Regions from separate parts of the Homo sapiens genome. Here all the other regions are linked to region 2. The links are contacts of gene promoters, found by promoter capture Hi-C in blood cells and fetal thymus (Javierre and others, 2016). All regions are on one chromosome and are shown on one strand. The core of a region is centred on a gene start or on the middle of the fragment in contact, and the rest is flanking DNA. Distances in the headings are between cores, read along the strand shown.

Evidence for each region. Contacts are between HindIII fragments. The CHiCAGO score rates a contact against its expected background, and 5 or more counts as called.
Region 1: a contact is called between a fragment that was not itself captured here and the fragment with the promoter of MEF2C in region 2, in 3 of 17 cell types (monocytes, M0 macrophages and M1 macrophages). The highest score is 6.3, in monocytes.
Region 3: a fragment that was not itself captured here is called in contact with the fragment with the promoter of MEF2C in region 2 in 6 of 17 cell types (naive B cells, M0 macrophages, M2 macrophages and 3 more); the score reaches 14.9 in naive B cells.
Region 4: a fragment that was not itself captured here is called in contact with the fragment with the promoter of MEF2C in region 2 in 1 of 17 cell types (endothelial precursors); the score reaches 5.2 in endothelial precursors.
Region 5: a contact is called between a fragment that was not itself captured here and the fragment with the promoter of MEF2C in region 2, in 6 of 17 cell types (naive B cells, M0 macrophages, total B cells and 3 more). The highest score is 14.0, in naive B cells.
Region 6: a contact is called between a fragment that was not itself captured here and the fragment with the promoter of MEF2C in region 2, in 2 of 17 cell types (naive B cells and total B cells). The highest score is 5.9, in naive B cells.
Region 7: the fragment with the promoter of CCNH here is called in contact with the fragment with the promoter of MEF2C in region 2 in 1 of 17 cell types (M2 macrophages); the score reaches 6.0 in M2 macrophages.

What each region holds. Positions count from the first base shown.
Region 1 is chr5:90,022,019-90,025,332 of GRCh38, forward strand. No RefSeq gene overlaps it. Among named protein-coding and RNA genes, the nearest start is that of MIR3660, 7.0 kb to the left of the region's middle. The HindIII fragment of the contact is 623 bases long and covers 1,672-2,294 here.
Region 2 is chr5:88,881,372-88,885,235 of GRCh38, forward strand. MEF2C (myocyte enhancer factor 2C) reads right to left here and starts at 1,813. Exons shown (of 11, transcript NM_002397.5): 1 at 1,584-1,813. It overlaps MEF2C-AS1 (MEF2C antisense RNA 1), which reads left to right and starts at 1,959. Exons shown (of 10, transcript NR_136219.1): 1 at 1,959-2,114. RefSeq lists an enhancer at 2,871-2,920. The HindIII fragment of the contact is 10,727 bases long and covers 1-3,864 here.
Region 3 is chr5:90,267,909-90,271,589 of GRCh38, forward strand. The region is part of intron 1 of LINC01339 (long intergenic non-protein coding RNA 1339); the gene reads right to left. Among named protein-coding and RNA genes, the nearest start is that of LINC01339, 20 kb to the right of the region's middle. The HindIII fragment of the contact is 8,813 bases long and covers 1-3,681 here.
Region 4 is chr5:90,394,448-90,397,948 of GRCh38, forward strand. All of the region lies in intron 4 of CETN3 (centrin 3), which reads right to left. Among named protein-coding and RNA genes, the nearest start is that of CETN3, 14 kb to the right of the region's middle. The HindIII fragment of the contact is 2,858 bases long and covers 65-2,922 here.
Region 5 is chr5:90,182,708-90,186,362 of GRCh38, forward strand. All of the region lies in intron 4 of LINC01339 (long intergenic non-protein coding RNA 1339), which reads right to left. Among named protein-coding and RNA genes, the nearest start is that of LINC01339, 110 kb to the right of the region's middle. The HindIII fragment of the contact is 1,577 bases long and covers 818-2,394 here.
Region 6 is chr5:90,250,484-90,254,110 of GRCh38, forward strand. All of the region lies in intron 3 of LINC01339 (long intergenic non-protein coding RNA 1339), which reads right to left. Among named protein-coding and RNA genes, the nearest start is that of LINC01339, 38 kb to the right of the region's middle. The HindIII fragment of the contact is 231 bases long and covers 1,689-1,919 here.
Region 7 is chr5:87,411,624-87,415,087 of GRCh38, forward strand. It overlaps CCNH (cyclin H), which reads right to left and starts at 1,307. Exons shown (of 9, transcript NM_001239.4): 1 at 1,055-1,307. The coding sequence starts at 1,171. LOC105379066 (a long non-coding RNA gene) reads left to right here and starts at 1,359. Exons shown (of 3, transcript XR_948543.1): 1 at 1,359-1,438. RefSeq lists enhancers at 934-1,063, 1,094-1,263. The HindIII fragment of the contact is 6,680 bases long and covers 68-3,464 here.

The DNA.
Region 1 (3,314 bases), core at 733-3,232, 1.1 Mb after region 2:
GTTCCTCCTCTATCCATCATGTCAGAAAGATCCACTATACTCTTTCTCATAGACTCTCACATTTATGGATTCTCAAGAACAATTTCACTTTCACTGGAATTAAAGCAAGTATGTTCTTTTTCCTGATGGCCAAATCCCAAGAGATTTAGTTAAATTGAAGTTGGGCAAAGGTACTAAGTCTCAAGAGCACTTATTGGGAATCTGTGGGTGTGTCTTGTCACCAGGGTTACAGTAAAACATGTTTCCAAGCTTGGAGGTAAGCAAAAGTGGCTCTAAAAACAATTATAAGTTTTAAACTTGCTTTAATGTGGTAACCAAAAAGAGTAAGGCTACTTTAACGTATTTTTATTTGAATTTAACAATTGCCCACATTTTTCTGTACTTTTTTCAAATCATATTTTCAAGAAATAAAGCAATGAAGATAAATTTAAAGTCCTTCATATCTACCTCCACCCCACTTTCACTCTTTTCCTCCCTAAAGGCAAACTTCAGAAACTAAATAAATATTCAGCCTCACCAGTAACCAGGGAAGTACAAATTAAAACCATGAGATACCATTTCACATGCATCAGATTGCCCAGCATTTATAAAGCCTGACAATGTCAGGCTCTGGTGAGTCTGTGAGAAAACAGGGATCCTCTATCCATATGATGGGAATATAAACTTGGAACTATCACTTTGGGGATAAATTTGCCAGTATCTTGTAAATGTAGAATGTGTTTACTCAATGGCAGGGCAATTCCACAGATAGATTGAGAAAATATTCTTTCCTTCTTCTGGGCATATAGAAGGATTAAACTCCTAGTCCCCATGTCTTTGGGTGGGACTAGTTCTAGCCAATAATTTACAGTCAAACAATGTTGTCATGTGTTGCTGGATATGTAATTGCCAGTGTAAGACTCTCAAGCTCCATCTTGCCTTGTGAAGATGATCTTGGAAGCATATGCTAATGTGTAGGGGACACAAAATCAAGTCAGCCTCAGAATGCTGAGCCACATACATGGTCAGGAGCTGTCCTCAAGGATCATCTGAACCTGTTAACAGATTTTATGTGAGAAAGATAAAAAATTTCTCTTGTGTTAGGCCACTGAGGTTTGGAGGTTGCTTCCTATGGCAGCAAAACTAGCTTATCCCAGCAAATACATAAATTTACACACCAGACAAAAATTCTTACTCATATACACAAGAAGACACAGGCACAAATGCATCCTTTATAATAAAAGAAAATTGAAGAATGTTTCAGTTTATGAGTAGTGCAGTTAATTGTGGTATACTTTTATGTTTTCAACCAAAAACATAAAATAATTTATGTGTATATGGATTAATCCTGAAACAAATTTTTGAGACAAACAAGTTGACATATGATATGCACAATACAGTAATGCTAGAAAATAAGCTCTATTAGCACAGGATATTGTTTCAGTAACTACCATATTCCCACTGTTTAGAACAGTTCCTGGCAGGTGACAGCAATAACTCAATAAATATCTTTTAAGTGAATAAATTATTATTTTGCAATGTTTAGAAATGTAGTATATACTATATAATACCTAGGGATCATATATGTAATAAACATTTATGAAACATGCTGGAACTTCATTTTATTAGTTCATTTTAAGTCCCACAGAGTAATTATAAGGGTAACTCCATTGACTTGTAAACCCCAAATTAAGCTTTCCTTGTATTAGGACATTCTGATTTGACATTTGCTGTTGACATTACTTCAGAGCCAGTCTCCTCACTAGTAAAGGACTGAAACAGTATCTACTGCACAATATTCTTGTGAGGATGAAATTAGATGGTATGATCAGAGTGCTCAGAACAGAGAGTAGCATAAGTAGGCAATCAATAACTATTAGCAACTATTATTGTTGTTGTTGTTGCTGTTGTTGTTATGGCTACCATTATTTCTTATCTGGCTTTAAACTATAGATCACTTTATTTTATACTTTTTTAGTATTTGCATAATGATGTAAAATACCTGCAGGAATTAACGAATCAAATGTCCTCTTATATTGCCAGCTTCTTGGCGATATACTAGGTTTGTAAGTAAACTATTTCAACATCTAAACTTTTATACTAACAAGGAGTTCAATATTATACCTAAATTTGTGAAACTAAAATATAGAAGAAAAAAAAACTAACCAGGTTTAGGAGAGAAGTTTGAGATGTTGGCCTCCTTTTTTCTGAAGTTTCTCAATTGTATTTCCTACTATAAAGCCAGATTGAAAAAATGATTGTGAATGTGTATGTGTGTGTGTTATACCAAATAGATATTGCCATTAGCTATTTGAAGCTTACAGGTTAAATTATAATTGAGTATGTAGAAGTTCAAAATTCAAAGCTATTTTCTCCACTGATGAGAGTGAACTTTTGTTTGGGATTGTACCCTTAAGAGCAGCAAATGAAAAAATTAATGGCCCTCTAATTAAAAAAAATCAAAAGATAATAGATGTTGGCATGGATGTGACGAAAAAAGAACTCTTTTACACTGCTGGTAGGAATGTAAACTAGTACAACCACTATGGCAAACAGTATGGAGATTCCTTAAAGAACTAAAAGTACAACTACCATTCGATTCAGCAATCTCACTACTGGGAATCTACCCAAAGGAAAAGAAGTCATTATACAAAAAAGACACATGCACACGCGTGTTTATAGCAGCACAATTCCCATTTGCAAAAATATGGAACCAATTTAAATGCCCATCAACCAACAAGTGGATAAAGATAATGTGGTATATATACACCATGGAATACTACTCAGCCGTAAAATGGAATGAAATAATGTCTTTTGCAGCAACTTGGATGTTGGAGGCCATTACTCTAAGTGAAGTAACTCAGGAGTGCAAAAACCAAACATAATATGTTTTCATTTATAAGTACAGATAAGATATGCTGATGCAAAGGCAAAAGAATAATATAATGAACTTTGGGTACTCAGGGGGAAAGATGGGATGGGGGCTAAGGGATAAAAGACTACATATTGGATACAGTGTACACTGTTTGTGTGACAGGTACACCAAAATCTCAGAAATCACCGCTAAAGAACGTATCCCTGTAACCAAAAACTACCTGTTCCCTAAAAACTATTGAAATAAAATAAAATGATTTAAAAAAATTAATGGCCCTCATTGTCCTTACCAAACTTTCTGAGCCCTGGAATGCCACCTAAATAGAATTCCTTTCACTAACCCTTCACAGTCTTTGTATTTCTCACTGACAATCACTTAGAATTCTAATATACAGATAAATTACACTGGCCAGATTTAATCTTTTTTAATTTTAATAAGATTAAATGTGAATTCCTACATT
Region 2 (3,864 bases), core at 563-3,062:
TGCATACACTGGAAGACAATAATATGGCTTTTTAACTGCATTATCTTTAGTTGAAACTGATGGAGAAACAAAAATACTGCTTATACCATATTGGTACATGCTGAATGTTTTTAAAGACTAGCCAAAACTGACATTTTTTAAAATTAAATAAGATGTTTTAGTTTCAAATTAGAGATTGTTGATCTATTTAAAGCTAAAATTGGTATGCAATACGAGGTTAAACGGGGTTCACAGGTGGTCACATTTCCATGTCCTACCAAGTCTCTAGGGATTGGAGTTATTATACTCCACATAAACATCTTTACTCTGCAACCACAATTCCATTGCAAGGTGCCAGTGAAAGTAGGCTAGTCGCTTTTTTTTTTTTTGGACTGGTATAATGAGGTGGCTGGAGTTTCCTTTATAGCACTTAGAAATTATATGCAGTCCCCAAGCATTTCATAAGACAGTTACTATTAGAGTTAGTTTCAGATTCACAATAGTAAAACGCACTTTGTGTCAAAGCAATTCTCCACTGAGGACCGGTTAAGGAACTGGCAGAGAGCCCAATTCTACTTAGTCTACTGTCAGCATTTACATATAAAGTATTTTATACAAAAGACACGCATTCCTAAAATGTGACAAAAAAAGGCTCTCCCCAAAGAATGATAACTACTGGACTTAGAATAGTCAGAAGTGATTCAGATATAAAATTTCCTTTAAAAAGCAATAGCCATGTTCAGGGAAGGAAGGTAACATTAGCATTAAATTTAAATACTTCCACAATATTTAATAATAAAATAAACAATGTGCCACATCTATATATACTTCCTTTGTGACAAACTTTATCATCGAGTTTGGTAACTTTCATTCCAAGTCCAAAGAGAAGGCAATTTAAGTGACTTAACCTTGCTTGCTTTTAAACAGCTATGTATTTGACTTGACCTGAACAGCAATCCATATGCTGAAATCGAACGTGAATTGTGAAATGTGTAGACTACTATGGCAGGGATATTACTTTTTGTCCACACCAATTAAGAAGCCCTCTGTCAAGCCGGCACTTTGGTGAGGGAAGGAAATGCACAAAGGTATACTCTGACAGACAGCCATGCTTTAGGTCAAACTAATCCCAAGAATTAGTGGCTCAGAAGCATAACCCAGGGCAAATCAGTGTCTTTGGGGGGACTCATGGGAGCATCTTTCCACAGTGAACTAACTGCTAAATCTTAAGGCGTCTACTTCAAGGTCACAGAACATGCTGTGAAATATTAAAATCCACCAGGCTCCACACGCTCCACCATATCAAACATGCTAATGACGTGAACTAACTTCATGAAACTTTAAATACACTGGTGTGACAGGAACGAGTCAGGAGTGATTTCAATAGCTGATGGCAAACGGATACGACTATCTAAAAAGTTACTTTTAGCAACAAACAAGGAAATCATGGAATCTAACGAAAAAGAATGCACAACGAGCCTCAACTTCAGCCTTCAAAAAAGGCACAGGGATAGATAGACACAGTGCCGTGGAATATATTGATGCAGATTTTAGAGACAATACCCGGGTTTTCTATTTCCTCGAGAAATATCAGGGGTACTTACATGAAGGAAGACCCGATCAGATTAGTCCTTGGGATATTTTCCTTTCTTAAGAGAGAGAGAGAGAGAAAAAAAAAATAACAACAATAATCTTTACTTCGTCCAGCGTTGAAGTGCTTCTCCACCTGATTCAAACATGCAGCCACGGCGACCCACACAGAACCTTCAAAGTCAATCCAATAGCAGCCCGAAGATGTCTGGGTGTACGCGTGTGCTCAAGTGTCTGTGACTGCGAGCAGAGCGAGCAGAGAGCTGGAGACGATGTGTGCGTGTGTGCGCGCGCGCGAGGGGAGCGCGCGCGAGGGGGGGGGCGCGGGGCCGCGCATTCGCGCGCGCCGAGGCCGCTCGGAAGAGGAGGAGGAGGAGGAAGAAGGAGGAGGAAGAGAAGGAGGAGGAGGAGGAGGAGGAGAAAGTGGCTCTCAGCGGCCGGTCGGATTAAAAGTAACCAGACTCGTCCAGAAAACTGCGTCCAGGAAGGAAGTGACAGAAGACGAATGGGAAAAGGAGAACAGCTCACAGCGTTTGAAACATCGCGTAAAAAAGACTGGGGGTGGTGGGGGCGGGGGGGATTGAAGGATACTGGGAGGGGAGGCGGGGGTGGTAGGGAAGACGGAGCACGAATGGTTGGGGTTCTAAGCAGCACGTCCGATGAAATGTCTTTTGCCTCCTTTTTTCCCCCTTTATTTAATTTTGTCCTTGCCTTTGCTTCGCGCTGCCTTTTTCTCTCCGTCTCTCTCTCCCCCACAATCCCAAACCGTTGACTCTTTCCTCGCGAGCTGGAGAAATCATCAGTTTCACTCTTGCAAAAGGGGGGCGGGACTAGACCTCGGAGCATTTTAATAAAACAAACATACAGCAGCTCCCTCCTCACCCCTCCAGTCTCAACTAGATTGATAAATTACTCCACTACACTACTTTAATTATGTATATGGTATGCAGAATAAATCACTGAACATCAGTACCTCAATCAAGCACTTTTAAATGATAATTGCATCTTGGTGAATCAATCTTTCCATTCCTGACATTTTGCTAATTTTAGTTTTACGGTGGGGTAATAGCACATGCCATACGCAAACCTAATGACAATTCTTTATTGCACGAAATGAAGACAACACGGCGAGCTGCGGCTCCCTGCTCCTCTCGCGGCGCCTCTGCGGAGGACGCTCGGAGAGAACCTAGTCTCCCGCTGCGGCGCGCTCGCTTGCTCTCCGGGGACGCTGCGAGCCAGCCAGCAGGAAAGTCCTTCTAAAGTCGGGATCTTTCCTCTGACCAATAGGAGCGCGACCCTAATAGTTGCTCTTGTGACTTTTCCCCCTTTTGGACACGCGTTAGCCACTTCTCTCTTCCACCGGTCGGTGCGCTCCTCCGTTACTCACGCGTAAAAACCACGGTCCAGGATGTCTGCAGCACTCGATTCCAGCGTGCTTTTCCTGCACGCCCAGAAGTCGCGGTTTTCACCCTGAGAGGTTGGAGCGCTAGAAAGCGAGCCGAAAGGTTTCTCTAATGTTAGTAATGTACGAAATAATAAAATAATTACCAGTATTTGAGATCTCGACTTCATCGCGGGGCCATGAACTTTCTAATCAGTTTGGAAATATTTACCGAGGAAGCAGCTTCCTCGGAGTTCCCCCCCTCCCCCCACTCTATCTTTTCCACACCTTACTGGACTTCATCCAGGTCATTAACATGTAAACCAAACCAACTTCCCAAATGCATTAGGCTACCCTAGCCGATAGCTGATGACTTCACTTATCCTGAAGAGTTTCAGCTGCACAGGAAGCAGAAATAGAGACTGATAAGGGAGGATACTTATGTTAAGGTTAAAGCATGATAAACACTTTTCCTTACAAAAAAAAAAAAAAAAGGCTTTAATATTTAGGCTACTAGAGATTGGGCACCTCCCGCCCTAACCAACTGTTAATATATACCATGCCCAATAAAGCCAAAGATAAAATACATCAACTAGTATAGAATCATGAAAAGACAAGATTGCATGCCAGTAGAATTATAGATTACATAAAATGTTTAAACCAAACTATTTTTTAAAAAATATTGTGAAAGCAAGAAGGGAAAATTAATAGAACATGGAATATATGAGATTAGACAATAGTATATTGAAATATCTAGCTAACTAAAGATTTCCTCACTTTAGAAAATTCCTTTTAGCACTACGTTTAACCCAATGACTAGTTGTATTTCCTGTTAAGTTCAGCAATATGCCTCCAGATGACTATTTTAATATATGAGGACAGTATGGTTCAAAAAGCCTCCTGCTTCAATGTAG
Region 3 (3,681 bases), core at 1,061-3,560, 1.4 Mb after region 2:
CAGTTGTAATATAATTTCATTTTTTCCTGGTTCAAAGAATGACCGTGATGAAGATGATCGTCAAAATACAAATATATATATACATATTTAATTTTTTAAAAATAGTATCAATTTGGAAAATGAAAATGACTGATGGTGAAAAAAGATTTTAATTATATACATAAACCTTGATGTTCTTGTGTTTTTTCTCCCATTTTTATTGAAGTACAGTATAATTACTTCTTTTTACATAAGACTTTAAGGTAAATTATCTTTTGTCAGTTTTCTAGAAAAATTTGATTTCATATTATGGCTTGATCTCAATTGATGCTATCAATTAAATGGCATTTTTCCTGAACATTAAGGGTGACTTCCCCTAAGTAACATCCCTGTTTTGGGTTTTTTTTGCTAAGTTATTACATTAAAATCTGATTCAATATATTATTTAAACTTTCACAGAAAATAATCTTTTCATTTAAAAATAATTTTCAAATATAAATGGTTTCCAAGCAGATTTTACTGTGCTTTTGCCTTATACTTATTTTTCTACCATTATCCCTGTTTTTCAGAAAAGCCAACCCAATCACAGAAAAACTAACATAGGTTTTGCTGTGATTGCAGGTGCATCCAGTGTGTTCCTGGGCTTACTTCATGCCTAAACCAACATTTTGTGTTCACTGTTATTTCTTCTAGGCCCTCCATTAATAGCCTCCTAATCCCAACATCTTTTGCCATTCTAGGCGCTTCCTTTCTCATTTCTTTTTCAGGTTCTGCCTACGAAAACCCTTTAATGGCTTGACATTTCTGAATTATAGCAAAAAAAATGTATTTCGCTCTGTGTAAATTAAACTGAATTATTTAGTGTTTTAATCATAATTTTTAAAAAATTATGAGTGGCAAACAGGGAATTAGTTTGTTCAGAACAAAAGCCTATGATAACATCATTCTTTTTTCAGGACAATAGAATACTATTTATTAAAAACAAACAAAAAAAAAACCCTAAATTCTGTCCTTTAAAAACAGTGTTAAGTGTGATCAAATATTGTGACTCAGAGGTTACCTGACAAAAAAAAACGTAATATTAATGTAAACAGCTAAAAACTAACCTCCTGTGAATACTAAAGCAAATAAATTATAATCTATTATTTCAGGTTTTCTGTTCTACAACTGCATTTTTATTTATACCTTTTCATTTCAAATGTATGTGCATAAAGTATTTTTATCCCTCAGTAAAAATAAAGCTAGATATTTTCTGGTAAACAGGTAAAACAGCAACTCTGTTTTACCTGTTTCTAAAATCTTCTCTCTGATGTTTTCATCACGGGTATCTTACATAGACTCTAGAAATGCAAAGGCAATACAAATGGTACGTAAGAACCTCCATTAATCTTTGTTTCAAGGAGAATGTGAACATTCTCTGTACAATTTAATATTCCGTGTCCACCCACAAAATTCTACAGAGAAGTGTGTGTGTGTGTGTGTGTGTGTGTGTGTGTGTGTGAGAGAGAGAGAGAGAGAGGGAGAGAATCGGTAAGTTTGATTTTAGTAGGAAATTAGTAAAATATGCATATTACAAATAAAGAGAGTACAAGTCCCCATCTGCCATTTATAGTAAGATTTTATATTTCAGAGCTTAATAATGAACCTCCCTGGGGAAAATTTAATAAAGCAGGTTCCCTGGTATTGCCAGCAGTTGGGTTTTTCTGCATCTCTTATTTTCTTACTCCCCAGGGGGAAAAAAATCTCAGTAAGATTTGTGAGCCTGTATCGAAGATAAATCTAGTGTAGTCTGGACTATACACCACCCAAACTGATCCAGATCTCCCACCCAACCCACTGTTCGTTACTGTTTATAAAGTGCAACATGCCCTGTGAAATGATAGGTTGGAGCATTCTCTATCTGTCCTTACCACAAGAAGTACAAAACCAGTTTAGAGTAACTGGAAATTGCAGTTTCAAATTTAAAGAAACACCAGTTATGTATAGGGTGGGTTAGGGATGGGGGTAGTTCTTAACTGTTCTTTTCTCCTACAGAACACTGAGCGTCTAAAACATGTTCAATCCTGTTAATGCTTGTCAAAAATTTCACAGTTCAGCTTTGTTCAGATTTTTTACTGACTATGAAAAATCAATTTGGTGGGATTCAGATTCATAAAGATGGAAGAGCTGCAAGAGACCTTAAATAACCTTGTTCTACCAAGTCTATAGGTAAAAACTGAGTCCCAAGGAAATTAAGGGACTTGCTCAAGGTTTCACATGTCCAGATTGGAACTCAAGTCTGCAGGCGTCCAGTCTATCATCCTTCCCACTGCTCATTTCATCTATTATTATACTTTAGTAATTAAACAATTTAGAGAAGCTATACAATGTGATTTCACAATTAACATAAAGCAGTCATATTATATCCAGGGTTGTGTAGAATTTCATCTGTGCAAAATTTCACTTGGTATTTAGTCATTACACTCAAATAGTATCATTATCTTTCAATTACAGAGATCAATTTTAGTTCATTAGCAAAATAAAATGCTTGCAGAAGGTCCACACAAATTCTTCAAAGCTGCAATCTTCTAAATGTCAGAATTGAAACACATTTTATAAAAAAAAACAAAATGTGACAAAAGTACTTGAGGTTAAACCACAGCTGTGCAAGACTCAGTGCCCTGCGTGATCATAAATCTGCTAAAAAGGCATAATTCAAAGTTCTGTAAAGGAAAATGTGTGCCATTGCCAACTAATAATATTGCCATTTTCCCCATTTCTTGGATTTTGCAGCTTTTCAAGAAAGATTTGGGTCATAGGATATTGTGACACAAATAAAGTATTATGAGTACAGATTCAACCTAAGATGACCTAGAGGCTGCATAAAGGGAAGATTAGATTAATGTTTAAGCCTTGCAAGAGGATTACTATCTATAGGCAAAAACAATGGCCCAAACAATATAGCTATTAGAAATGATGGTAACCTTATCAGGCTTTCTAAACTGAGAGCCTTAATTGCTATCCAGACAAACCCCAGTCAGCTAAACAGAGCTACCAGCAAAGGGGCAATATTATCAAGTTTAAGTTGATGCTAATATCCTTTTGATAAATCTGTGTTGATATAACTTGGGAGAAGTTATTTACAAAATATATATAAAGTTGTTGCTCCTTAATATGTTTAATTATTGTGAGGTTATCATACTAGAGTTTCTAAGATTATATCGATATTTCAGGTTTAACTTGTTAGAATATGTAAACCAAAACTACAGCCTTTGTTTTTCCAACATATTTTTATACTGTTGTACTTTTTTCTAAAGAAGGAAGTGATGATTTGCTCATACTATGATGTGGCCACACTGATATCACAGCTAATGATCCTTGTGGCACAAATTAAGTTTGCAATAAATGAGATTCTTTTTCTACTAATATGATCAGAAATTTAATACCCAAAAAGATGAAAGGTTTTCAATTTTACCTTTGTACATAACCCTTTTCAACATAAGTAAACTCTTCATAAATTTTGTTATGAAATTTAAATAATACATAGTCTTCTTTGTGATTACTTGTTTCATGGAACCCAAACCCTAAAATTCTCAATTACTAGAAATTCAAGAAGTTTATCATGTTAAACAGTTTACTAATACAGTAGAAAGATTAGAAATATCATTTTGTGCCATACCAACCAAGGGTAGTGGTATTCAGCGAGCCTGGATGGTAAGTAAA
Region 4 (3,501 bases), core at 244-2,743, 1.5 Mb after region 2:
TAAACAACCCTCTTTATAATCTTTATTCTACTAGTTCATTTAGCAAATCCTTCCTTTACAAGTAAGCTTGAACATATCATGCATGTAAATTAGATTTCTAAAGAATGAAAATATAATAAAATTATAAAAAGAAGTTAAATTATTATTTTTTGAACTTTTATATACTTAAAAGCCTATGTTAAAGAATAATTAAAACCAGGTCACCATACCTCAAAGGTATCAATAAAAATGGCAATTTGAAAAGATTACAGATGTAATCTTAATCACCAAAGTAATCCAGTAACTATATAGATGTAAAGGCAGAAAATAATCATGGATAAGGACTAATTTTTAGTTTGCCAAAATTATAAATATAGTAAGAATCTCCAATTTATAAAACATAATGTTTAAGACAGCAACCTAGAAATAAGAAATCAGATAATCTTATAGAATATAATTTTGAAAACCCGACATATGCGCACGTATCAATTAAGAAAAATGTTCAGAAGATACTTCTGGTAAGTATTTAGCATTTAGCCCTAAGACTTAATACATACCTAAACAATGCATAAATTATGAATGATAATTTTGATAATGCCAAAAGAAAACTACACTGAGACTTAAGACCTGGTCTCTAGTCACAGCTCTGCACAGAACAGCTCTGCATCTCATTTCCTTCATCTGAAAACACTGAACTATGAGATGATGTTTTAGATTGTTTAACTCTTATTTACCATAGAAGGTATTATATGAAAATACTCCATTGAATCAAACATTTTTAAGTGGCTAGTGAATGCCAACACCACAATAAGTGTTGCGTAATATATCAAAACAGACACCAGGCTTCCTATTCTGGAATACATTAAAACCGAAATGAGAAAGATATTATATGATATTATAAAATTATTGTTAACTTTCTTAAGTGTAACATTGGTATCATAGCTTTATGAAAGATATATCCTTGTTCTTAGTAGATGGATATGCTAAAATATTAAAGGATCAAGTTTTTGTTTTATTATTAAAATTTAATTAATTAATTAATTAATTTAGAGACCGGGTTATGAGACTGGCTAATCGTTGTATTTTTGGTAGAGATTAGGTTTCACCATGTTGCCAAGGCTGGTCTTGAACTCCTGGGCTCAAGCAATCCACCTGCCTCAGCCTCCCAAAGTGCTGGGATTACAGGCATGGGCCATGGTGCCTGGCCTAAAGACTGAGTTCTTGATATATGAAATTTATTTTCAAATGATTGAGAAAAAAATATACACACGACAGGTAAAGCAAATGCGGTAAAATACTAATTACTAAATCTAGGCAGAAGGTACAATGGTGTTCATTGTACTAGTCTGACAATTTTTCTGTTTGAGAATATTCATAATGAACAGTTAGAAAAAATTAACCAATTAAAAAATGTTGAGGAGATAAAACATGGTCATAGGGAATGAAAAGAATATATACTGCACTGGTTCTAGAAACCACATAGAAAACCGGTTTTGATAACTATGTTAGTCAGTTTTTATACTTGAAACAGAACAAATGTTTTATAACACAAAATACTATTTATTATTAAAACAAAGACCAAATCAGTGTTGAAAAAAAATCCTTCACAATGGTAAAAATTATTACTAATAAGAAAAATTTAGGTAAAGGTAAATCATTACTTGGGCTCTAAAATAAAAATACAGAATTTGGAAAGGAAGTAGAAAGAGAGCTGGGGTGGGAGAATACCATCAGAAATACAGTCAAAGAAAGAATAGTGTATGCCTCACAGAAATAAGCTATGAGTTAGGAAAAATGCACCCTCCAGAAGCTGACAGGGAACTATGAAGCCATGCAATCAGTATTTAACATCTACAAAACACTATGACAAACATGGTAAGAACGTAATACAAAATCTGTAATACTCCAAACTACTTTCAAGAATCTTACAAATTGATGTAGTGATCTTTAACCTTTGCAGTTAAATAGCCATGTCTGAATATCTTAGGAAAGCTATGATCCCTCTCTCTTTCCAATAAATACAGTTCAAATATATAAAATTATTAATCAGTTTAGCCAGTGTGCACCTTCACTGAAGAACTCCCGATTTAGACTGAGGCATCTAGACCAAATAGGAAGCAAGAGTATGTTCTTAAGAACTGTATTAAGAGAAAAAACATAAAACAGCCTTAGAATGATTTGATTACAAATCATTTTAACAGTGTAATACATCCATGATTAAAATATTCAAAATCCAAAAAGTACTTGTTACTTAAAGATCTAGAACTTTTTCTTGATCTGTAAAATTTCAATACTCAAACTGCAAATTTTAAGTTTCATATATAAGTTTGAAAACCACAAAACACTTAATTTTTATATTGTTTATATACAAAAACTTTAAACTATAATAGCATTTCAAAAGTATTTAAAATACGGTCAGCCTTCTGTAACCACAGGTTCCTCACATCTGCAGATTCAACCAACTGCAGATGAAAAATATTTGGGAAAATAACACAATAAAAAATAATACAAATAAAATAAAGTATAACAATTTACATAGCATTTACATTGTATTAGGTATTATAAGTAATCTAGAGATGATTTAACGTATACAAGAGGATATGTGAAAGTTATATGAAAATACTATGCCATTTTATACAAGGGACTTGAGCACCATAGATTCTGGCATCCTTAAGCGACTTGGAACCAATCCCCTGTGCTTATCAAGGGACAACTGAATTCCATGATTCATACCTAAAAACACACTACTTAAACCCAAGAAAGTAAAAATTAGAAAGTGGCTCAGGAAATTAAACTAGCTACTTTACTTTAATTGTCTTGTAGACAATTAAAAGACAATCTTCTATATCTCTGTGCATTTGATTTTATAACCTTCTCTATTAACAATATCTTATATCAAGTTCCTATATCTAATAAATCTACCACAATGCCTAGCTTAAAATAAGCTTTGGTAAAACATTTATTGAATCAAGAAAATATGACACTTTGTTTCCTTTTATACTGCCTTCTTTAACAAAATTTTTCATACATCAACCATTTCATAGAGCAAATCTTATTACAAGTTGCTAACAATAAGAATTTTACAGAACTAAGTAGATTAAGTACCTTAGAGACCATCTGGCTTTGAAGGGGAAAAGCAAATCTTAGAATTGGAAGTTCCAACTGAGTATGTTGCTAATACACTGCTTCCTATAATAGCATGTAATTTTTAAAACTCCATAAACATAGAAGTCTAGTTAATATTTTACTTCATAGCCCGAAAGGCAATACAATATTACGTTTAAAAGCACATTCTTTGCCATTTTGGAGATTTGATTTTGAGTTCTGGCTCTACCATGTACAGTATTAGCTTTGTGATAACCTGGGCAGATTAATAATCTCTCAAAGCTTTAGCTTCCTCATCTCTATATATGCATCTATTATACACATGTATAGGTATAATACTATATCTACTTTACAAGTTATTATGGAAATTAAGTGACATAATTAATGCTAATATCCAATATAGTAGCTGCTAAATAA
Region 5 (3,655 bases), core at 356-2,855, 1.3 Mb after region 2:
GAGCTACTGTATTTGCTTCACTTTTTCCTGAGAGCAATTTATTCACCCTCGACAACATTTTCATGCTCTTCTACCTAGCCATTTTAGTAAAACTCACACACCTCTATATTTGTGCAGGATCTGGTTCAGGCTCACCTCTTTCAGGAAGCCTTCCCTCACTACCCCTATCTACTCTGATCTCTCATAGTCTTATATTTTATTGACTTACTATTTCACAATTTCTAGTGGCAGTGCTTGACTTGCCAGTACAAATGCCTGCAGGGCAGGAAGTCTTGTCTGAGAAACTCAATAAATATGCTGAACTTTCAATTATCACTTTGGTTTGATCACATTTCAAGATGAACACTTTATACAAAATAAAGTAAAAATAATAAAACTCAGTGTATAAATATATGCTGATTATATTTCCATAACTGTGTAGAGAGCCCAAATCCTGGAGTCAAACATACCTGAATTTGAATCCCAGCTCCAGCACTAGTTAGTTGTGTGACCTTGGGCAAGTTACTTAATCTTTCTAAGTCTCAGTTTTCTGATATTTAAAAAGTGAGTAATAGCAGTACCTACCCTCATTAAATTGTTGTGAATATTAAATGAAATAAGGTATGTAAAATCTTTAGCAAAACATCTGGTACATATTAAGCAATCAGTTCATAAATATAATTATTTATTATTTGAGTGAGGGTTTTACACCTAACTCCTTTTAAATCCACACTTTCTTGAAAAAAGCATCTATCTTTTATATATTTTCTCAAAAGCAAAGATAAGCGATCCTTTGTGCTTTATTGCTATATCTAACAAGATTATTTCACCATACCAAAGCTTAACTGTGTTACTATTACGTTAGAATGTTCGTTATACACAATACTCTAAGTAATTTCAGTGCTTATGGATATATCATTACATTATATGAAGTTACTGACAATTTACAGGTTTAATTTAGTGACTAAATAGTAGGAAATTCTGATTAAGAATTCGCCAGAGGGGAGAAATCTAATTGAAGGGGAGTGAAGTCCATACCATGGACCATTTAGCTGAATTAAACCCAGCTTCCAAGGGATGGTACAGGGAATGATTAGAATGCTACAGCTCTGGTTACTACAAACATTGAGTGGATTACCAACCAATCTACATCTCTACATTTTCGCACTCACCACCCATGACTTCAGAGCATTTCAATAATGAAACTCTATAGGGAGAAAAACTGTTTAGATGTTTTTCCTTCACCTATTGTAATCTCACAGTCAGCTATCTAACATACACAGAAGCTGCCCGCAGATGACACCACTGAGAAATACAGAGAAAAGGAAGCATGAAGGAAAGAAGGAGGAAGGCAAAGGGGCAAGGGGAAAAGATCACACATTGCAAGTCATATGATTATAAAAATCAATGAAAATTCATTATAAAATAACTGGAAAATGTTTAGGTTTTTTTACTTTGCTCTCAACCCTACTCTTCAAGATGCTTTATTGTTTTGCCATTTAGAAAGTGCTTAGAGAGTTCTACAACAGAAGTACTTCACTGTTTTATTAAAGATTATGTTTAAATGTGCAAGGAACAATTTACAGAAAAATCCACATTCTCTTTGGCTCATAGGATTCAGCCCTAGCTGTTAAAGGCTCAATAAACTGTTATTGCTTCACATTACTGAATAGATGCAACTGTGAAAAAAAATATAACAAGTTCACATTCTCATTCATTCTTCACATTTCTCCCGCCTTCCTTCTCATCTCCTTCTAGAGCTTTATCCTTTCTTCTTTCCTTCACCCAATGTCATTCCTTTCGCTCTGTACCAAAATACACACTAACATTCTTTAAACAGTGTTGTTAGATCAAAGTGCTAGTTTTCATCCTGAAGTGTATAGGTTTCTGCTGTGTTTAGCAAGTTAAAAAAAAAAAAAAAAAAGCAACTCTGACAGTTTTAGATTATCAGTTTCACATGCTTGGTACAAGTGAGGAAACTTGAGATGCAAAATCAGTAGAATGTATACAAACTGCATTTATTTTTTTCATCAAAGCACACACTGAAGTGTTTGGCTTATTGCCTAAAACTCAATTATCAGATTTTTTTAATTTTAAGAACCTCATCTTTGAACATAGAAATCACAAATATTTCACTCTTCTAAGTTTTGGGGCTTTGCTTAGCAAATTGAAGTCAAAAACAGAAGTAGTAGTGTCTGCTGTTTCTGCCGAATGATTAGTACAGGCGGAAGGGTTATAGAGGTTAAACAAGGAAATCGTTTGTTTCTGCCTACACAAAGGATTATGAGAACACTTTTCAATGTAAACACACTTGAGATGCTGAGGTATGTTGTGAAGAGTTAAGCTGTGAGTCCTGTGTGAATTTACTTGTTTGTCTGACAAACGAAAACATTTCAAAGGTTATCTATGCCTGGAAGCTTATGCCAGGCAGAGAGACCTTCACTTCTTTTTAACGTGGGTTTGGGATACTGGGGTGATAATAATATGTATTGTGAATGAAGTGCAGATAGGAAAAAAAGAGTGAAGCAGATAAAAATGGGGCTTTTTTTCCTACTTGTACAAATTGATCATTGCTTGCTTCTCCAAAGGCCAAAATATCTTAACTACTGGGAAGCCATTGAAATTATTTCCCAGTATTGTGAGTTGACACAGGAGAATAGAAGGTCCTCTTTATTTAAAAACTTATTTTGCACCCAAAATAATCCCATCAGGCCTTCAGTATTTGGTGGCAGGGTTTCGGTCTTCGAAGAGGAATACACAAATTAGAATTGTTTGGGAACCCACTCACCACAAACTGACCAGTTAACTTTTGTGGAATCAACATTAGTGCTAGCATAGCAACACCTACTGGTTAATTTATGAAGTAAAGTTGAAGCCAACATGGCCAGAAATCAGTTCCTCCATCTTTTTTTTTTTTTTTTTTTTGAGACGGTGTCTGGCTCTGTCGCCCAGGCTGGAGTGCAGTGGCACGATCTTGGCTCGCTACAACCTCCGCCTCCTGGGTTCAAGCGATTCTCCTGCCTCAGCCTCCATAGTACTTGGGACTACAGGTGCGCGCCACCACCACTCCCAGCTAATTTTCGTATTTTCAGTAGAGACGGGGTTTTTCACCATATTGGTCCTGACCTCTTGATCCACCAGCCTTGGCCTCCCAAAGTGATGGGATTACAGGTGTGAGCCACCACGCCTGGCCCAGTTCCTCCATCTTAATTAGAAAAATTAAAGCATGTTTTTTACCTATGACGTCTAAAATTTTACCCATTTTAGATATATAAATGAGTATAAAAATGACTGTTTTCAAATTAAAGAATGGGAAAGAAAACTGTAGTTGTGAAAGAAAAATAACTATGTTTAGGGTGCTACTAAGGCAATTATTACACTTCTCAGTAATTGGAAGTTGCCATTCAGCCTTCTAAAAATTATGTTATGTAGTTCATAAGTGAGACTGATTCTTTTTCTTCTTTCTTCTCCTCCCTTCCCCCCTCTCCTCCTCCTCCCCCTTCTCTTCCTCCCTCCTCTTCTCCTTCTCCTCCTCCTTTTCTCCTCCTCCTTCTCTTCTCCTCCTCCTCCTCTTCTTCTTCTCCTCCTCCTCCTCTTTCCTTCCTCCTCCTCTTCCTCCTCTTCTTCCTCCTCCTTCTCCTGCTCCTTTTCTTCCTCCTCCTTCTCTTTCTTCTTC
Region 6 (3,627 bases), core at 554-3,053, 1.4 Mb after region 2:
AAAAAAGTTACCCACCACTCTGAGTAGTTCCTTTGCTAAAGCAGTAAATTGTATGACATAATCACCAATGTTTTAAAAGGACATGCAATTTATCCGAAGAAGTTAGTTGATTGAAGATGTGAATTAATGTACAGAAAATTAGTCTTTTGGATGGTTCACTCAATCAGAGAGAGTTACAAAGTTGTAGAGGCAAAATGATTTCATTGACAAGTCAAAGATATTATCTCCATTTCTTCTAACTGGTTATTTTTTAAGAGAAAAAAAACTGATTTTGATCACACACGTACGTATGGGAGTTCACAAAAAAATGTAACTCAAAGGAGCAGTTAGAATTGGAACTTAAATACTATCTTATTAGATGAAGAAGGAGAGGGATAAGGGAATTATGGGAAAACAAATGACTCTTATGAAATCGAAATAGAGACTAGATTGGAAGATATGATAGTTTTTGTGATTGTGTCTCCTTGGGTGTAGTTTGGAGACATTGTCTTTGGTAATCAGAGTCAATCTTCCTCAGTTGTTCCAGGGGTGAGGATTTATGACAATTGAGGTATTTTGGGAAGCTCTACTTTTAGGCAGATAAAGAGATTTCAAGAACTCAAATGCCTTCAACTCAAAATAATTTTTATGCCTTATTGTTGTAGTCTGGACCCCTTCTCTAGGGTATTCATAGTACTTGCACTTCCTCCTTCCCAGGTGTAAGGAACATGATATTACCAATATAGTGGGCCAACATCATACTCTGCTCAATAATAGGATGATCAAGGACTCTTCAGACCATGACACAAAGCAGAAAAGGTAACTTAGTCCTTGAGTAAGACCTTGAATGTGAACCGCTGCCTGCGCCAAGGGAATACTCTGCTCCTTCTTCCGGATGAAAAGAATGCATTTGCCAAATAATAGCTACATAAAACTGCCAAAGACTAAGTTGATCTCTTCTAGTAAAGATTCCATATCACCCACAGCAGTTGAGATCAGCATTACCTCATGCTTAAGTGATGTTAGACCACTAACATTTGACACAATCCATCTGATTTTTGCAAAGACCTAACTGGTAAATTAAATGAAACTGTGATAGAGACCATCACCTTTAAGTCTCTGAGAGTGACACACTCTTCACCATTCTGCCTAGGATGTGGTACTACTTCCTATTTACCATCTTGGTTGGGCTTGAGGCAGTTTTAAGGACTTTCAGTTGTCCTCTCTTACCATAATGGCTCTTTGTTCATCGTCTAGAGCCTAATGTGGGTTTCTGTCAGTTACCAAGAATATTCATCTTGACTGTAGGTCAGAAAAATGACCACAGACTGGGTTTGTGGACCCACTGCAACCAGTGTGAAACAATTTGGGCCAGGACTTCATTTATCACCCAGCATTTGTATACCTCCACTCTATCAGGAGAGCCATAACCGTGTCTGAGCTGCCCTGGTGTCAGCGTTGGCTCAGATCTTGTATTTAACAGCACTCAAAAGCTCTGGCAGGTCACCCTTTTCTCAGGGTACAGTTGCTCTCACAAATTTTAGGATTGGATTGGAGGAAATTACACTGAATATACCAAAGGAAGAAATATACTTTTCTCAGGACCCAGGATCCCCTTCAGTTGATGGGCTTCAGTATGAGACATGGCTCCGTTCTAGAAACTGGGTGAAGGGTTATTATTTTCCATTGATATTAGCTCTGTTCACCCAAGCTTAATTTAATTTTGTGTGTAAGTGAAGCTATACTATTATTGCCTGCCTATCTACCTCACTCCCAAGAACAACATGGTCTATTAGCCATACCCATAGACCCCATAGACTTGAACATGTCATAAGATAATATTGCAACAAATTCAGTTCAAAGGTCTCAATTCGCTTTTATTTGTGATTCTAGAATTCTATTTTATAGAATGAGGTGTTCTCATGAGCTGAAGAGAGGAAAGCTTGACTTTATAGGCAGAAAGGGGCTGAGAAAAGCAGAAATAGAGAATAAAAAGCAAATTGGTCAATATGAAGTGGCTTTCCTTCTAAAAATTAAAGCAAAGAGGGCTTCCTTATCATGCCTGCTAAAACTGGCTTGTTACAGGGATTTGGCTATTGTTTCTCCTGATTTCTTGGAAGGCCAGATAGATGACTTAATTTTGACTTGATAACATAGAGTCTCAGCATTGGAAACTCTATGTTGGTTTGTTCTGTTGGGCCTAATGCAGGAGCTCAGTTCAGACTCATGACCTCTCATAAATTTTATTTAACAAACCTGAGCTAAAACCATAAAACCCCTACATGAAAACATGTAAATAAATCTTTGTAACCTTGTGTTAGGCAATGGCTCATTAAAATGAAAAAACTTTGGATAAATTAAATTTAATGGAGTTTAATTGAGCAAAGAACAATTCTCAAATAGAGCAGCCACCAGATTTGGAATAGGTTCACAGTGACACCAGGGCTGCCACATGGTCAGATAATATTTATAGACAGAAATGGGAAAGTGATATACAGAAAACAGAAGTGAAGTACAGAAACAACTGGATTGGTTACAACTCAGCATTTTCTTTATTTGACCTTGCTTTGAACAGTTGGCTGCCTGTGATTGGCTGAGACTATGTGATTGTACAACAGTAAGTAAGTTACAGTCATTTACACATCCAGTTAGATTACAGTTTACTATGTATGCAGAAACCTTTAGGCTGAACTTAAAATAGGTACAGAGATAGTTTTATGTTAAACTTAATTTGACAATTATCCTGTTTTGGTCAACATCTCAATTTTGCAGGATTGACTAAAACGTTAGGCATTGACATCACTTTGTCACCTTTGTAAATTGACTTATTTGGTCTCAAATCCCACTGGGAAATAGACAGAATTGTCAGTTTTGCAAGGTGGGAACAAGGAAACAGAACAATAGAAAAAAACTGATTGGTAACTTCAGGTTACTTTCTTGTAAGTGTTAGAACGGAGGAGACTTTCATATTATTATGGAGTCTCCTGCTTTTAGGAAGACCTACATGGTATTTTGAGATCTATATGCTTCCTTAAAGTTTCAGTTTGTTTACACTGCATTTAGCATGAGAGACTCCATTTTTGTTTGGTCTGGTCTATTGGGGCCTAGTGCAGGAGCTCAATCCAGAAAAATGGCCTCCCATAATTTTGTTTAACAATTCCTCTCTTTTGGTCACATTCTCACCTGAGAACGTGACCAAAACTTAAGGCTTTAGTGCTACTCTCAGTTACCATTTTGGGGAGCTGCCAGTCTCAATAAATCATTCACAGGCCACAGTGTCCTCATGGTCATGCATTTCTTTGAGTTTTTGTTATTCTGGTCAAAGAGAGACCATTTGACACTCTACGGATGGCTGCATGCAAACATTTAAAACATTTGAGAGAATACGGCACACCAGGGAGACTACTGTTATGACCACCAGGAGGATAATACCAAGACCAGCTGGTTATATTTTAAATAAATGTTTTCAAAAACATCTCTAATGTGCTTTTGTTATCCCCTATGCCTCACACCACTTCTTTAAAGATATTCATTAAATAATTAGAATGGTATTATTTCATGTTTGTATGGAGTATTACAGTTTACAAGATATTTTCATATTATAACATCTTACAATCACCACAAGTCCACAAGGCATGTAGGGGAATT
Region 7 (3,464 bases), core at 57-2,556, 1.5 Mb before region 2:
GCTCACAGTTGTGATATCATTATTTATAAATTAAAAAGTAGACAGACTTTTTAAAATATGATTGGAAAGCTTCCAACATCCGTTTCTCGGTCAGTCATTACGTCACAAGTTGTAAAAAAACAGCAAATGTTTCAATAAATTTCTGTTATTTTAAGCTACCCAGTTTGTGGTGATTTTTTTAAGGCAGCCCTTAGGAAACTAATTCAGGTGCTAAAATCAGTGATATGAAATAGATGTGAATTAAAGGTAGAAAGTAAAGTAACTCAGTATCGGTAATTTGGAGGCACTGAACACTTGCTGGAGTGGAGCTTGCAGGAAAGATTAAACCAGTCCGAGAGCTGTAACAGAAGGAACTTGGCTAGCGGGCCATAGTCCAAACCATCTTCAGTCACTTGGTTTGTACTTGGTCTCTGGTCTCCCTCCCTCATCCAACCCATTCACCACGAGGTTGCTAGAGCGCTGTTTCCAGAACGGAAATCTGATAAGGTTAGCTTCCCATTTTAAATATTTCAAAGGTTCCTCATCCTTTCAGTGGAAATGTTAAACGCCTCACTTCCACTTACAAGTTCCCTTCCTACCCTCCCCAGCCATTCCTGCACAGGTACTCAACTTCGGCCACATACGACCACAAACACGTCCACGCACCATCTCTGTAACTTCTGACCTCCCTCCCACTCTGAACGGTGGTTCTGACTGCCTGGAACTTCCTTTCCCATTTTCTCCGCATTGGCTACTGGGAAAAACCTTCCCCAACATCATCTCTTGACAAGTGAACGGCTCTTGCCACGCACTACCTTAGCACACTACTTACTCTCTTCTTCACTACGTTACAAAGACTGGTTACTTGTCTGCCATTCGACGACGGGGATGGCGTTGTTCGTCTTTGTACCCACGGAACCTGGCAAGGTGCTCGCTTATTTTGATAGAAAAACGCACTCCGCGCCGCAGAGGCAGAGAAACGACGGAGCGAGATTGTCCTGGGAGCCAGAAGAGCTCCCGCAGCTGCTCAGAATTTAGTGACCGGGCAACTGGGCAACCGTTGGGAAAACCTCACCTTCCCGTTGGCCACGGCTTTGCATCTGAATTTGCGGTTGGCGTCAGCCCGCAGTCTTGCCAGCTGCTCCTCGCTGGAGAAGGTCCAGTGCCGCTTCTGACTACTGTTGTGGTACATTATGGAATCGTGACCAGGTCCAGAGGGTCTGCAGACGAGAACCCAAACGCATCAGCGTCCTGGCGTAAAACACCCGTACCCCCACCGAAGATCTCGCGGAAGCCTAGGGCGTCCGGCTAGCCGGCGCTGGCGCGCTGTCGTCACGATTACGCGGCCAGCCCGTACGCAGTTGCATTTCCGGAGCGGACTAGGAACAGACCGTATCCCGGGTTCGTTAGGGCGCCCACTGAGACGTAAGTGGGCGGAGCCTAGAGAACGCTCCTCTCGGTGAGTCTGGGACATAGCTCCGCCCCTTCCAGGCAAGATTTAAAGGAGAAGCGCCCGGCAAGAGTGTTCAAGGGGCATAAACTGAGGGTACGGAGTAGGCAGATGTAAATTCACAGGGGATAATCAGAAATGAGGAAAGGATTTCGTAGGGTGCTCATTTTTAAATAGAGGCCTCACTGAAGTTGACATTTGTGAAAAGGCTTGAAAGAGTTGAAATAGTAGGTTGATCAATCATGTAGGGAGATCACGGGGCCCAGAAAGAATAGGTAAGATCTTCAGGCAGAAGCATTCCTAGCCCTTTTCAGGAAGAGTTTGGAGACCAGTATTCTTGAAGCACTACCAGAAATCTCGGAGAATGGAACATGGCTGAAAAACTTGAAGCAGTGGATGCGTATTGGCCCTTACAGTTCTGCCACTTTTGTTGCCTTGTCTGTTCTTTCTCTGTGCTTTTTTTCCTTACCCTTCTGTTGATAACTAGCCAATCCTCTCCCTCTGTTTTCATCTCTGAAGCCAGGATGTATGGTAGTATTCGTTTTATTGAGATTCCCATTTTCATTGCCTCTAGGGAGCCTTACAGTAAGCTATCATGAAAATTAAGGTATTTACTATTTTTTAAATTAATAGGACTTTCAAAATTGCAGGTGAGGTTCAAAATTTACATGGATTCTGGTTTGTCCCATTTAGGCATACCTTATTCTCTCATGTATTTATTATATATCCAATCCGAAAAATGGATTTCCCTATGGCAAATAGCTTTTCTAAAAAATAAATAAATAAATAAAAAGAAAGAGAAAGATGATGAGACCTAGAGAATTTAGGTCTTGAAAAGCCCACACAGGTAAAAAGAAGAAGTGGCAGGATGACTTTAACTCTGCTTTCTATTAAAATGTTTTTAGGGGCTTAAGAAAGGGAAAGCCTTTTCTTTTTCATTTTTGTTGGGTACAGCTGAGGTTAGAGTTTGCCACAGTTATCTGAATTCCTCAAACTTATGCCATTTGTGGTATATAATTTTGGAGAGCCACACACTCAACATATGTGGCTAACCTGGTCTCATAAATTGGCTAAGAAAAGAGAGAAAAAGAGAAGATCAAAGGGCATGGCAAATTGATTACAATGAATTGTGAACAACCTAAAATGTTGCATGTTGGGGAAAGAATAATTTAAAAGAGAAAAACATAATGGTACAAAAGATAGGAAAATAAGTGATCTAGATAATTAAATGTCTATATAAAGTCTTAGCCTCATGACTGTTATATATATCATATAAATTCTTTTCATTTTGTTTTTCTGAAAGATATTTGACAACTCCTTAGTTTTATGTAAAGGATAATAAAAATAGGCATTTAAAAGAGTTGGCAGACTGTGATTTCCACAGAGATATGAGTAAAATTTCTGAATGTCATTTAGGAAAAATATATGAAAAACCTGGCATTGCTGGTGTAATTTTTTTTAAACCTTGAACAAATTTTAGTCCATGAAAATTGACATTGATCTTATTTTTCAGATGTAGTAGGAATTGGGCTCTGTCTAAATTAACTGTCTGAGGAATACAATTGTTGCTGATGCCCTAACATTAAGGCTCATGTATGGTTTTTCTTACTAAGGTAAGCAGACTGGATGCTGTGACAGTCTCCTACTCAGCCTGTTGTGCGACAGTGTTTCTTTGCTATTGCTACCACAGGAGGCACACTGGAATGCAGAACTTGTGCCTTTACCTATTTCCATTTCTAGTTTCAACTAAAAAGTAGCAAGTGTTTCTCTTCACTTCTATTATTTTTACTTATTTATTTATGGAGAATTTCAAATATAAAGAATACAGAGAAACATATTTCAAAAATTATCAATACATGGCCAGTTCCCTTCTACCCTCCACCCACACCTCCATTAGGTTTTTTTCTTCTTCTTCTTCTTCTTTTTTGAGACAAAGTCTTGCTCTGTCACCCAGACTGGAGTGCAGTGGCACAATCTTCGCTCACTGCAACCTCCGCCTCCTGGGTTAAAGCCATTCTCCAGCCTCAGCCTCCTG